Linked DNA regions of Homo sapiens: region 2 is linked to region 1. Evidence: promoter capture Hi-C in 16 types of primary human blood cells and fetal thymus (Javierre and others, 2016). All regions are on one chromosome and are shown on one strand. The core of a region is centred on a gene start or on the middle of the fragment in contact, and the rest is flanking DNA. Distances in the headings are between cores, read along the strand shown. Region 1 holds the start of PRKDC (protein kinase, DNA-activated, catalytic subunit). Region 2 has its middle 83 kb from the start of LINC00293.

Region 1 (5,628 bases), core at 568-3,067:
TGGATCCTCCCCAAGAGCCTTCAGAAAGAAAGCAGCCCTGTCTGGTACTTTGGTTCTAGCTTGGTGAGACCTGTGTGGGATTCTGACTCACAGAATCCCCCTTACAGTGGGAACTGTAAGAGTAACAGACCTGTGCTGTTTTAAACCACTAAGCTTGTGGTAATTGTTACAGCAGCAATAAGGAACTAATACACTTCCCCTGGAATCTCTCAAGTGAAAGGAGATATGGCATAAATGGAAGGTAAACTTGGAAGTGCTTTAGAAACAAGTTACTAAACGAACAAAAATGAATTCTAAATTTGAAACCCTGAGAAGAGAAAGTAATCACGCAATGTTAGTTTTTTGTTTGATATTTCCCCATTGTTAATATATTCTTGACAACAGATAGAGTACATATAGGATACATGTATATAGCATCTTTTTTTTTTTTTTTTTGGGACGGAGTCGTGCTCTGTTGCCCAGGCTGGAGTGCAGTGGCACAATCTCGGCTCACTGCAATCTCCTTCTCCTGGGTTCAAGACATTCTCCTGTCTCAGCCTCCCGAATAGCTGGGACTACAGGCGCTCGCCACCATGCCCAGTTAATTTTTGTATTTTTAGTAGAGACAAGGTTTCACCATACTGGTCAGGTTGGTCTCCATCTCCTGACCTCAGGTGATCCAGCTGCCACAGCCTCCCAAAGTGCTGGGATTACAGGCATGAGCCACCGCACCGTGCCACATATAGCATCTAGTTTAAACTGTTTAAGTTATTCCTACACCATATTCACTACTAGACCCTCCGGAAGAAAATCTCACCTTTTAATAGGGCACAACATCAAGGTCTGCATACTCGTGTTTTAAAGAAGGAATACAGGAGATCCACATAATTAAGTATTTGAATATTTAAAATGCTAAAAAGAGGCACTTTTACTACAAAGGGGAAAAAGTTCCCACCCAGGCATTGCTAAAGAGTTAAAAGAACATGACTTCAATTACATTTCTTCAATTTTTCTCAAAGTAGGAACGGCAAATAGAGGGGTTTGGAAAAGGTACTGGTGGGATTAGGCGAGATTCAGGTGAAAGAAAATACTTTCTCTTGGCCGGGCCCGGTGGCTCACGTCTGTAATCCCAGCACTTTGGGAGGCCGAGGCGGGGGGATCACGAGGTCAGGAGTTCGAGACCAGCCTGACCAACATGGTGAAACCCCATCTCTACTAAAAATACAAAAAAATTAGCCGGGCGTGGTGGCGCGCGCCTGTAATCCCAGCTACTCGGGGGGCTGAGGCAGGAGAATAGCTTGAACCCGGGAGGCGGAGGTTGCAGTGAGCCGAGATCGCGCCACTTCACTCCAGCCTGGGCGACAGAGCGAGACTCCGTCTCAAAAAAAAAAAAAATTATTTCTCTTGCCCTGCCCCCCACTCTGCATAGCAATGATTGCCATATTAGGGGTCGTTTTCACCAACTTTGGCTTTAAAATATCTTTCCTCTAATACTAGGGGGTAAAAAGCAGTATGACAAATCCCTTTATACACATACACAGAAATTCCCCCAAGAATCTAATTGCTGTACTTCAAAATACCGTCATCTAAACACAGAGAAGCGCCGGGCTGCCCGGCTCCAGAACGACTCGGGAAGCCAGGACCCACCCGCGGCCCAGCTCGGGCCGGTACCCACCCAGCACCGCGGGGCTGCTGCTCAGGACGCATTCCTGCCCCAGGCCGCGGATCAGTTGATGACCGGCCAGGGCAGCACCGCAGCGGTCCGCAGCGGACAAGGTCTCCTGCAGCCGCAGCAGGGAGCAACGCACACCGGCTCCGGAGCCCGCCATGCCGCCGAGTCCCGCTCCCGCGCGTGCGCCCGCTCGGCCCGGACCCGGAAATGCCCCTACGCGCGGAGGCGGGGCTGCGGGGCGCGGCGGCAGGAACTTTCCCGGGGACCCCTGCGGGAAGGCCTGGCCAGTAAGCGCGCCTCTTTGGCCCGAATCAACATGGAAACCTAAGGAAAAACGTCTGACCTGCGGAGGTAGTTTGGGTGGCTACTTGGTGTTGGACTTGGCTAAATAAATACCAGAGGCAGATAAAACAAGCGAGGGGCCTAGGTCAAGAGTTCCAAGTTTGTTCCTCGATAAAAAACGACAAACGCGGTCGGGGGCGGTGATGCCCGCCTGCAGTCCCAACACTTTAGGAAGCTGAGGCGGGGGGATCGCAGGAGTTCGAGACCAGTCTGGGCAACATAATGAGACCATCCCCACCACCTCCCGTCCTTAATTTTTTTTAATAAAAAAAATCTTTAAGTGAGAAATGCATCTGTAATGTCCTTATTAACCAAAAACGCCTAAGGGATAAAGAAGCACACGCTCCCTAGCCAACGCTAGAGGAACACACCCCGAGAGCTGGTGCTGTAGGACCCAGTTTTCCCGCGAAAACGCTGCCGCGCAGGGGGTCAGACCATCTGGACCAAGGGGGGCCGAGCGAGGCCTACTTCTGGTTTACGCACGGGCGCTGAAAGAAGCGGCACTGTCCCCCCCTGCCGATGCGCAGTGGCGCCTCCCGGAGGCGGAGCCACGTACGAGCGCCGCTGTGATTGGTGAGGCCCCGCCAGGGGCGGAGACGACCTTGCCGCCGGCGGGAACTCTGGGTCTCGCGGTTTGGGAGCGCTACTCGCCAGGTGGACTCGGAGTCCGCGAGCGTCGTCGGCAAGCGGCCGCCTTTCCACGGTAACCGCGCGCCGGCGGGGAGGGCGTGGCGCGGAGCCGACGGGAACGTCCGCGCTGCGGAGCAGGGCAGGGAAGCCGGGAGGCGGGCCCGGCCCGAGCTTGTCCTTGTCGCGCAGGTACTCCGAGCACTATGTCGTCCCCGGCGTCGACCCCGAGCCGCCGCGGCAGCCGGCGTGGAAGGGCCACCCCCGCCCAGACGCGTGAGTCCCCCGAGCCGGGCCCACTACAGCCCCCGGCGCCGCCCCGTCTGCCCTCTCGCCGCAGCTGGCAGCGCTGGGTGGGTGCGCGGGACCCGGGCGCTCAGCCTCGGGCTGGGCGCTGCCGCTTGGTGCGCACAGACACCCACAGCAGGCTGTGGCCTGGGTGCTGCTTAATTCGATTGCCATTTGCCTCTGTTTGGTTTGGTTCAGTGGTGAGTCATAATGCCCCAAGGAAAAGACAAATCCAGGAAGGCCGGCCCTGAAAGTTAATGGCTGTCTTTTCTGTTTTGTGTGACACAAGCTCGGAGTGAGGATGCCAGGTCATCTCCCTCTCAGAGACGTAGAGGCGAGGATTCCACCTCCACGGGGGAGTTGCAGCCGATGCCAACCTCGCCTGGAGTGGACCTGCAGAGCCCTGCTGCGCAGGACGTGCTGTTTTCCAGCCCTCCCCAAATGCATTCTTCAGGTGCGTGTCTGAAGATCTTGGTTTTGCTGTGCTTGATACACAGCTGATGCTTTATCTGCTCAGGTTTACTGGCTTTATAACAGTTGGCATAACGCCTAAAGCATCCCCTCTGCACGTGACTGAGCATGTTCTTAACCAGAGGAGCTGAACGGAGTGCAGAAAATAGTAGTTTTAGGGCTTAGTGAGCAGAGGAAGCAGCTTCTCTGGTGCTTTTTTTTAATAGAACATTTAAGAGTGCTCAGAATCTCAGCCACCGCAGGTTGCAATAAATATTCAGTTTGCTGTTGCGATTAGATGGTATAGATCAACAGACAACATGCTGTAATTTCAGGTTTGATATGCCACCAGAATTTCCTAATTTTGTTTTTATAGCTATCCCTCTTGACTTTGATGTTAGTTCACCACTGACATACGGCACTCCCAGCTCTCGGGTAGAGGGAACCCCAAGAAGTGGTGTTAGGGGCACACCTGTGAGACAGAGGCCTGACCTGGGCTCTGCACAGAAGGGCCTGCAAGTGGATCTGCAGTCTGACGGGGTGAGTATGCAGTCTCCTGAAACCATCTTATGGCGGGTATCATGTGGGTAACTCTGTTTTCATGATTCTGTCATGTTTTTCTGTGTAGGCAGCAGCAGAAGATATAGTGGCAAGTGAGCAGTCTCTAGGCCAAAAACTTGTGATCTGGGGAACAGATGTAAATGTGGCAGCATGCAAAGAAAACTTTCAGGTGAGCTACATGTATTAAAATTCTTACTTTGGGCTCTGAAAATGTTGGGAGACCGTGTTTATAATCTATATCTAAGTAGCCATAATGACTAGAAGGGCCACCTGTGGTGGCTCACACCTATAATCCCAGTACTTTGGGAGGCCAAGGTGGGAGGATCACTTGAGGCCAGGAGTTTGATAGCAGCCTGACCAATATAGTGAGACTCCATCTCCAAATTAAATTTTAGAAAAGAAAAAGGAAGAAAAATATTATTTATTTCTGTCTCCTGATAGTGACATACTCATAACTTTGTGTGTTTTTAGTAGTTGCCTGTTCCCAAATGCTATATGCCTAATACAGTTTTCTCTCCACTTAAAGAGATTTCTTCAGCGTTTTATTGACCCTCTGGCTAAAGAAGAAGAAAATGTTGGCATAGATATTACTGAACCTCTATACATGCAACGACTTGGGGAGGTAATCAAATACTCTTTAAATTCAAGTTACGTGTTTTAAAATAGTTAAATTAGCAAAATATAACTTGTTCATTTTTATTTTCTAGATTAATGTTATTGGTGAGCCATTTTTAAATGTGAACTGTGAACACATCAAATCATTTGACAAAAATTTGTACAGACAACTCATCTCTTACCCACAGGTAAGAATTTAGCTTTGACCTTGATGAATTTTAGTAACAGTCTAGAAAGAATGTTTCCAGATAACAGAAATTCTTCAGTAATGAAGATAGTATGCGCAAACACTTTAAGAAACTGAGTATCATCTCCTTTGGCCCGGTGTGGTGGCTCACACCTATAATCCCAGCACTTTAGGACGCCGAGGCAAATGGATCACTTGAGGTCGGAAGTTTGAGACCAGCCTGGGCAACAAAGTGAAACCCCATCTGTACTAAAAAATACAAAAATTAGCCAGACATGGTGGTGCATGCCTGTAGTCCCAGCTACTCGGGAGTCTGAAGCGATAGAATCACTTGAACCCCGGAGGCAGAGGTGCAGTGAGCCGAGATGGCACCACTGCTCTCCAGCCTGGGCAACAGTGAGATTCCATCTCAAACAAACAAAAAAAAACTATGTATCATCTCCTTTAAGATGAACATTTTTTTTTCACATTTTAATGTTCCTGAAAGTGGGACTTGTATTACTATCAATGACAGGTTATGGTTTACTTGGCAGTGTTTTTCATGTAGAAAAATGATGAATCTTAAAACTGATAGCTTCTTGGGTTTCATGAAGTAAGTTATCTTAAATGGAAATACTTTAAATGAATTACATACTTCCTGCTGCTTTGAAAGAATATATTGTACTGTAGACTTTTACTTCTAAGCCTCAGGTCAGTTTCTATTAATGAAGTATCAGCTCTGTTGACTCTGGGTGTAGTCTTTGGAGGCAAGCAGACTTGGTTTTTGAATCTTGGTTTTGCTGATTACTGGCTGCATAACCTTGGTCAAGTTCCTTAGCCAACCAAAAGCTGTTTCCTCATCTGTAAAATGGGAACCATATGTTAAGAAATTTGAATAAATATGATTTAACTTACTTTGGTATCGCCA
Region 2 (5,538 bases), core at 213-2,712, 1.0 Mb before region 1:
GGGGAAGGAGGAACAGGCTGGGTGGGGCAAAAATTGGTGTCACCCCTCCTCTCCCATGGGCTTGCTTTGGGACACGTGCTCCCAGGGCAGCACAGTCTGTCTGCAGTCAGACCCAGGAGAATCAGACGATGCCTGGCAGATGACACATTGCCAGCAGACACTCGGAAGATGGCTGAGTGATAAATGAATGGACAGGGCACCGAGGAAGCTGTGCCCCTGCTGCCCATCACAAGGTCCTGCAGTGCCCTGCCCTCCTGCCCCACACTGTGCTAGGTGTTCATGCCAGCCCCTCACCCACCAAGTCACTCCTGTCTCTTGCCGATGTCCCAGAGGATGTGGGGTGAGACCCACCATCCACATGTGCCATGCACTGGCTCTGCTGAAATAAAGAAGATCCCTCTGGGTTAGGGAGGGCAGGTGAGAGGCCCTGGGGTCTGCACAGGTGGTGTCGGCTCAGGTTCCGCTTCTGCCTGCCAGCTGTGTGTCATGGGCAGATCAGCTCATTCTTCTAAAGCTCAATTTCCACTTCCACAGAACGCAGGCAACAGCAGCCCTTCATGGGGCTCTTGTGAGTCCTGTTATTTATCACACATGGAGTGTCTCCTAGAATTCTCTGGCACACAGTAGGAGCTTAATAACTGTTACTACCGTCATTCACAGATCCCAAAAGAATCCTTGATTGCTCTTTTATTCTGTTCCCAAATATGCTTACCTGCCTCTGTGCAGAGACCTTTGGGGATGGGGAAGGCGGTGAAGGGGGAGCACGTGGGCTCTGCCCCACCAAGCTCTTAGACACACCTGTTCCTATGCTGGGCTGCTGAGCCATGGATGGTCGCCTGGCCAGGGAGGTGCCCATCAGCACATCATGACTGACTGGAATGGAGCTGGGACAGACCTAAGGATGCAGCATTCTACAGATGAGAGCTGAGGCTCAGAGGAGTGAGGTGGCTTCAGCCACTCCAGCACAGCCATGCCTGTCCCCGGGTAGGCTCTGCTGTAAGCCATCCCTCCCCACTCCAACCCTGTTAGCTGGATTCCATTGTTCTCTCTGTTTTCTGGATAAGGAAACAGACTCAGGGTCACATGAAAATGAAATCCAGCTCTTCCCAACTCAAAAGCCAGCTGTGACTTCCTGTTGGCTGGGAACTGGCCCAAAGGCAGCCTGTGTGCCCTGTCCTCGAAGTGTCACTCAACCTTTCCTGTAAAAAATAGAACAACAGCACAGAAGCACTCCCATAAACTCACTGCCAGTGGGAAGAAAGCTTCAGAATGCAGAAAAGCTACCCAGCCTCCATGCCAGATGAATCTGAGAATCAGGAAAACTGGGGTCAAAAACCACTTAACGGGAGCCCAACTCCCAAGGAGCTCTTAGGAGACAAGGAGGAGTCAAGCCTTGGATTCCAGGCATTATCTGATTCCTTCCAAGCACGATCCCCAGACCCCAGATGCCAGGCCACCCACAGAGCCCTGACGTCCTCCTGTGGACACCCTCCCAGGGAGATGCCCATACTCCCCCAGGGATAAAGTCGCTTGGATACCACAGATGCTGCGGCCACACGGTGATGCTGGAGACTGGATGGAACTATAAAACATCAAGTTGCCTTTGAGAAGCTCTAGGGTCTGCAGCCCCAGCACCTGCACCTAGGTAGGATTTTTTCACCCCAAGCTTTTCTCTGTCTTGCATCCTTGCCGCCTTTCTGCCTATCTTCTCCATCTTCCTGGGAGCGGTGTTTGGCCTGCTCGCCCATCCACCTCAATGCACATGCCAGTCTCGGTTACTTGCCAACACCATGCAAGCTGCGGAGACACATAGAAGATGCACAACGTTTGCTCCCTGTCTACAGGGAGATGGCAGTCTCAGAGACGAAGCCAGACAAATGCCTCTGTCGTTTAAATCAATCATGTCCAACTACAATTGAGGACAAAGTAAGAGGACTGGTGATCTAATAACAGGAATTTAGAGAAGTGGGAACTCACCGAGTGGTCGGAGCCATCCTCCTGTGTTCAGGCTTGATGCATGAGTAAGATTGTACTATGTGGAATGGAGAGGAAGGGTGTGCTCGGCAAGAGGAACAGCAAGTGCAGAGGCTCAGAGGTTAAAGAGAGGAAACCAGAATGAGGAGTGAGGGCCAGAGTTGGGGCCAGAGAGAAATGCAGCTAGACTCTTATGGTAGTGGTGTGCTTAGCTGTGGTCTGTGCAGGATAGTTTCCGAATAGAGCAGGGAGACATGAATGCCCTGAGATCAAGGGCAGTGGGAAAGTGCCTTGTGGGGAGCCTGGTGTCTGCAGGCAGGCAGAGCAGGGACCAGGAATGGCTGATGGCTGGAATCGCTAAGCCGCATAGGATGGACTATTATAAGTTCAGCACCTGGACACTGGCCACTTCAGATCTGTCTATACTCAGTTGTAATCCAGGCCTTTACCATTGTCCTCCATATTTCCACCCAGCTTTCTTTTCCATTTATTGGAGAGCCAGGCCACCTGGGTTCTGGTGCTGCTGGATTCAGGCCCTGCCCTCAGGCTCATGGCAAGCAGGTAGACAAAGAGAAAAGTAGACAAAAAAGATGGGGAGAAACCACTAAGCCAATACCATACCCACATAAACTCCAAACTCACATGTCTTTTAACATGGCACTGGGTGCTCCTGCAGTGGAAATCCACACGTGTTGTGGTTACAGCATCTTGTCTCTGAAAAAACTTCACAACCACCATTGTGCTTTGCCCCGCATGGCCCTGCTCAGGGGTAACTGTCCATCTTCCCTAAAGGAGGAGAGGCTGCCTGATGTTCAGGGAGCCCAGAGGTCTTGGCCAAAGCCACAGCAATGCCTGTGGATATAGGCCCACAGAGCAGCCCTACTCAAACTAGGCCCTGGCCCATCAGAATGCTCTGCCCTACAAGCCCTGCCATCCCACCACCCACCCCTCTGCTGGGCCTTGTTGGGCTGCCATGGGAATGTGACTGGCCAGCTCTCAGTGCCCTGAAACCCATGAGGTAGACCATCGGGCCAGCCCAGCTGTTCTTGGATCCTTCCTGATGCATGCCAACATCTGGGGCCACTTGGGTCCCAAGGAGAATTGTTGAGCACCAGGGCAAGAAGCATAAGGACTCACACCATCCCTCCCAGGTTCCATCACCCATCACTTCACCTGGGCTTGCATGAGCAGCCCCATCAGGCATGAGAAGCACATAGCATGTCCTGCCCATGGGGAGGCCTCCCAGGGGAAACAGGCCAGGCTGGGGGGCCATGGGGCTTTACAAACATCTCAAAGGCAGCAAAAGGAGGACTTTTCCTCAGCCAATAGCACCCCAGGATTTGAGCCGAAAGTAGGATTCAAGACACATGACTCCTTGCTAGAGGGATGCCATTTTTAGGGTGAAAGTTTCCCCCAGTGAAAAAACTATGCCAGGAGGCCAGCTCAGGTCAGCATCTCCAGTGCCAAACTCAAACAGATAGTTGATGTCTGGTGATAAATAGTGAAAACTTCAAGGAAAGGAAAGGCCGGGCCCATGCTTTGGACATTTATGTTCACACATCAGGAACTTTTTGCCAAGTGCATAACCATTCAGAGGTACAAAAAATTAACAAGAGCCACAGAAAAGAGGGGTATTCTATAATATTGCATAATACATGGTGGACTTGTTAATCACTGTATCACATAGGCCAGTGCTTTATGCACAGACTTGCTACAGTGCTCTCTTTTCATTTACCCCAGGGTTTATCTCTACACTAAGTCTCTCCGGGAAGTTTAGATGCACAGCTTCTGAATCTCTTCATACCAGAAATCCTCCCAGCATCCCAAACCTTTTGTCGGCAGTTCCTGCCATTGGAGGAATTATTGCAAATGGTGCATTAGTTATCTATTGCTGTGTGACACATTTCCACAAACATACCAGCTTTAAATTCCTTGCAGTCATCATCTCGCAGTTTCTGGAGGGGCAGAAATCTGGGCTCACCTGGGTTCTTTTCCTTAGGAGGTCTCATGAGCCTTCAGCCAAGATGTTGACCAGAGTTGAAGGTCTCATCTCAAAATGTGACTCGGGAGAGATCCACTTCCAAGCTCATGTTGTCTTTGGAGGATTGGCATTTCGTGGGCTGTTGAATTGGCCACAAGTCCTGCCCACACTTAGGGGAAGAGGTGACATGAAGACCTGGATGCCAGGGGGTGGCATCACCAGCGGCCAGCAGGCTGGCTGCAGTAGGTGGCCTCTAGATTGCCCCAGCAGCCCCTGCTTGCTGGTATTCACAGCCTAGTGCAATTCCCTCTTCTTGAGTAACTCGCTGTGATGTTAGGATCTCTCAGGGTCAAGGGGATGCCACTTCTGTGACAGATGTGATTGAATAACATGAGATTGTAACATCCTTATTGACAGCAGACACTCACCCTTGCCAGCTTGTATGACGCTAGCTGCTACACCATGAGCTGTCCGTGTGGCCAGGAACTGAGGGTGTCCTGCAGCCACAGCCATCAGGAAATCAAGGGGCTCAGCATAATAACCCACAGAGAACCGAGTCCTGCCAATATCACAGGAGGGAGGAACAGCCCTGTCCCAGCCAAGATCTCAGGTAGGGATTAGCCAGGGTTCTCCAGAGAAAGAAAATTGATAGCGTATATATGTGGATATATGAAAGGGGATTTATTATGGAAATTGTGATTACAGAGGCTGAGGAGTCAGCCCCATAACCTGTCCTCTGCAAGCTGGAGACCCAGGAAAGCCCATGGTGTAGGTCAATCAGCATCCAGTGGCCTGAGAACCAGGAGCCCCTATGTTGGAGGGCAGGAGTAGATGCGTGCCTTAGCTCAGCAGATCCCCTCTTCCCCAGCCTTCTGTTCTGTTATGTTCAGGATGCCAGCCCACATCAGTGAGGACAATTCTTTTTTACTCAGTGTGATGGTTAATTTTGTGCGCCAGCTTGACTGGGTTAAGAAATACCTAGAGCACCGATAAAGCATTATTCCTGGGTGTGGGTAAGGCTGAGTGGGGAAGATGCCCTGGATGTGGGTAGGCACTGTCCAATCAGCTGGAGAGAATCCTAAAGAAAAAGGCAGAGGAAAGGTGATTATCCCGCTCTCTCTCCTGGAGTTAGGACACACTTCTGCCCTTGGTCATCAGAACTCCAAGCTCTCTGGCCTGTGGACTCCAGGACTCACACCAGAACCATCCCCCAGCCCCCACCACCCCACTGGATTCCCAGACATTGAGCCTGGGACTGAGAGTTACATATGGGCTTCCCTGGGTCTCCAACTTGCACACGGCTTATTGTGGGACTTTGCAGGCTTCATAATCATGTGATCCAGTTCCCCTAATAAGTCTCTTCTCACATATCTCTGTCTGTAGCTAGATATTGATATCCTACTGGTTTTTTTCTGGAGAACCCCAGCAAAAACACCATCCATTGATTCAATTGCTAATCTCTTCCAGAAACACCTTCACAGACTCACCCAAAAATGCTTTACTAGCTATCTGGGTGTCCCTTAATCCAGTCAAGTTGACACATAAAATTATCCATTGCAAGGTGAGACAACAACCCTGGCTTA

Evidence for each region. Contacts are between HindIII fragments. The CHiCAGO score rates a contact against its expected background, and 5 or more counts as called.
Region 2: a contact is called between a fragment that was not itself captured here and the fragment with the promoter of PRKDC in region 1, in 1 of 17 cell types (total B cells). The highest score is 5.6, in total B cells.

Annotation. Positions count from the first base shown.
Region 1 is chr8:47,958,319-47,963,946 of GRCh38, forward strand. PRKDC (protein kinase, DNA-activated, catalytic subunit) reads right to left here and starts at 1,818. Exons shown (of 86, transcript NM_006904.7): 1 at 1,655-1,818. The coding sequence starts at 1,808. It overlaps MCM4 (minichromosome maintenance complex component 4), which reads left to right and starts at 2,623. Exons shown (of 17, transcript NM_182746.3): 1 at 2,623-2,696; 2 at 2,813-2,896; 3 at 3,198-3,362; 4 at 3,735-3,898; 5 at 3,987-4,088; 6 at 4,446-4,541; 7 at 4,627-4,722. The coding sequence starts at 2,827. RefSeq lists an enhancer at 1,287-1,446 and silencers at 1,627-1,676, 1,687-1,986, 2,657-3,056. The HindIII fragment of the contact is 8,899 bases long and covers 152-5,628 here.
Region 2 is chr8:46,921,324-46,926,861 of GRCh38, forward strand. No RefSeq gene overlaps it. Among named protein-coding and RNA genes, the nearest start is that of LINC00293, 83 kb to the left of the region's middle. The HindIII fragment of the contact is 404 bases long and covers 1,261-1,664 here.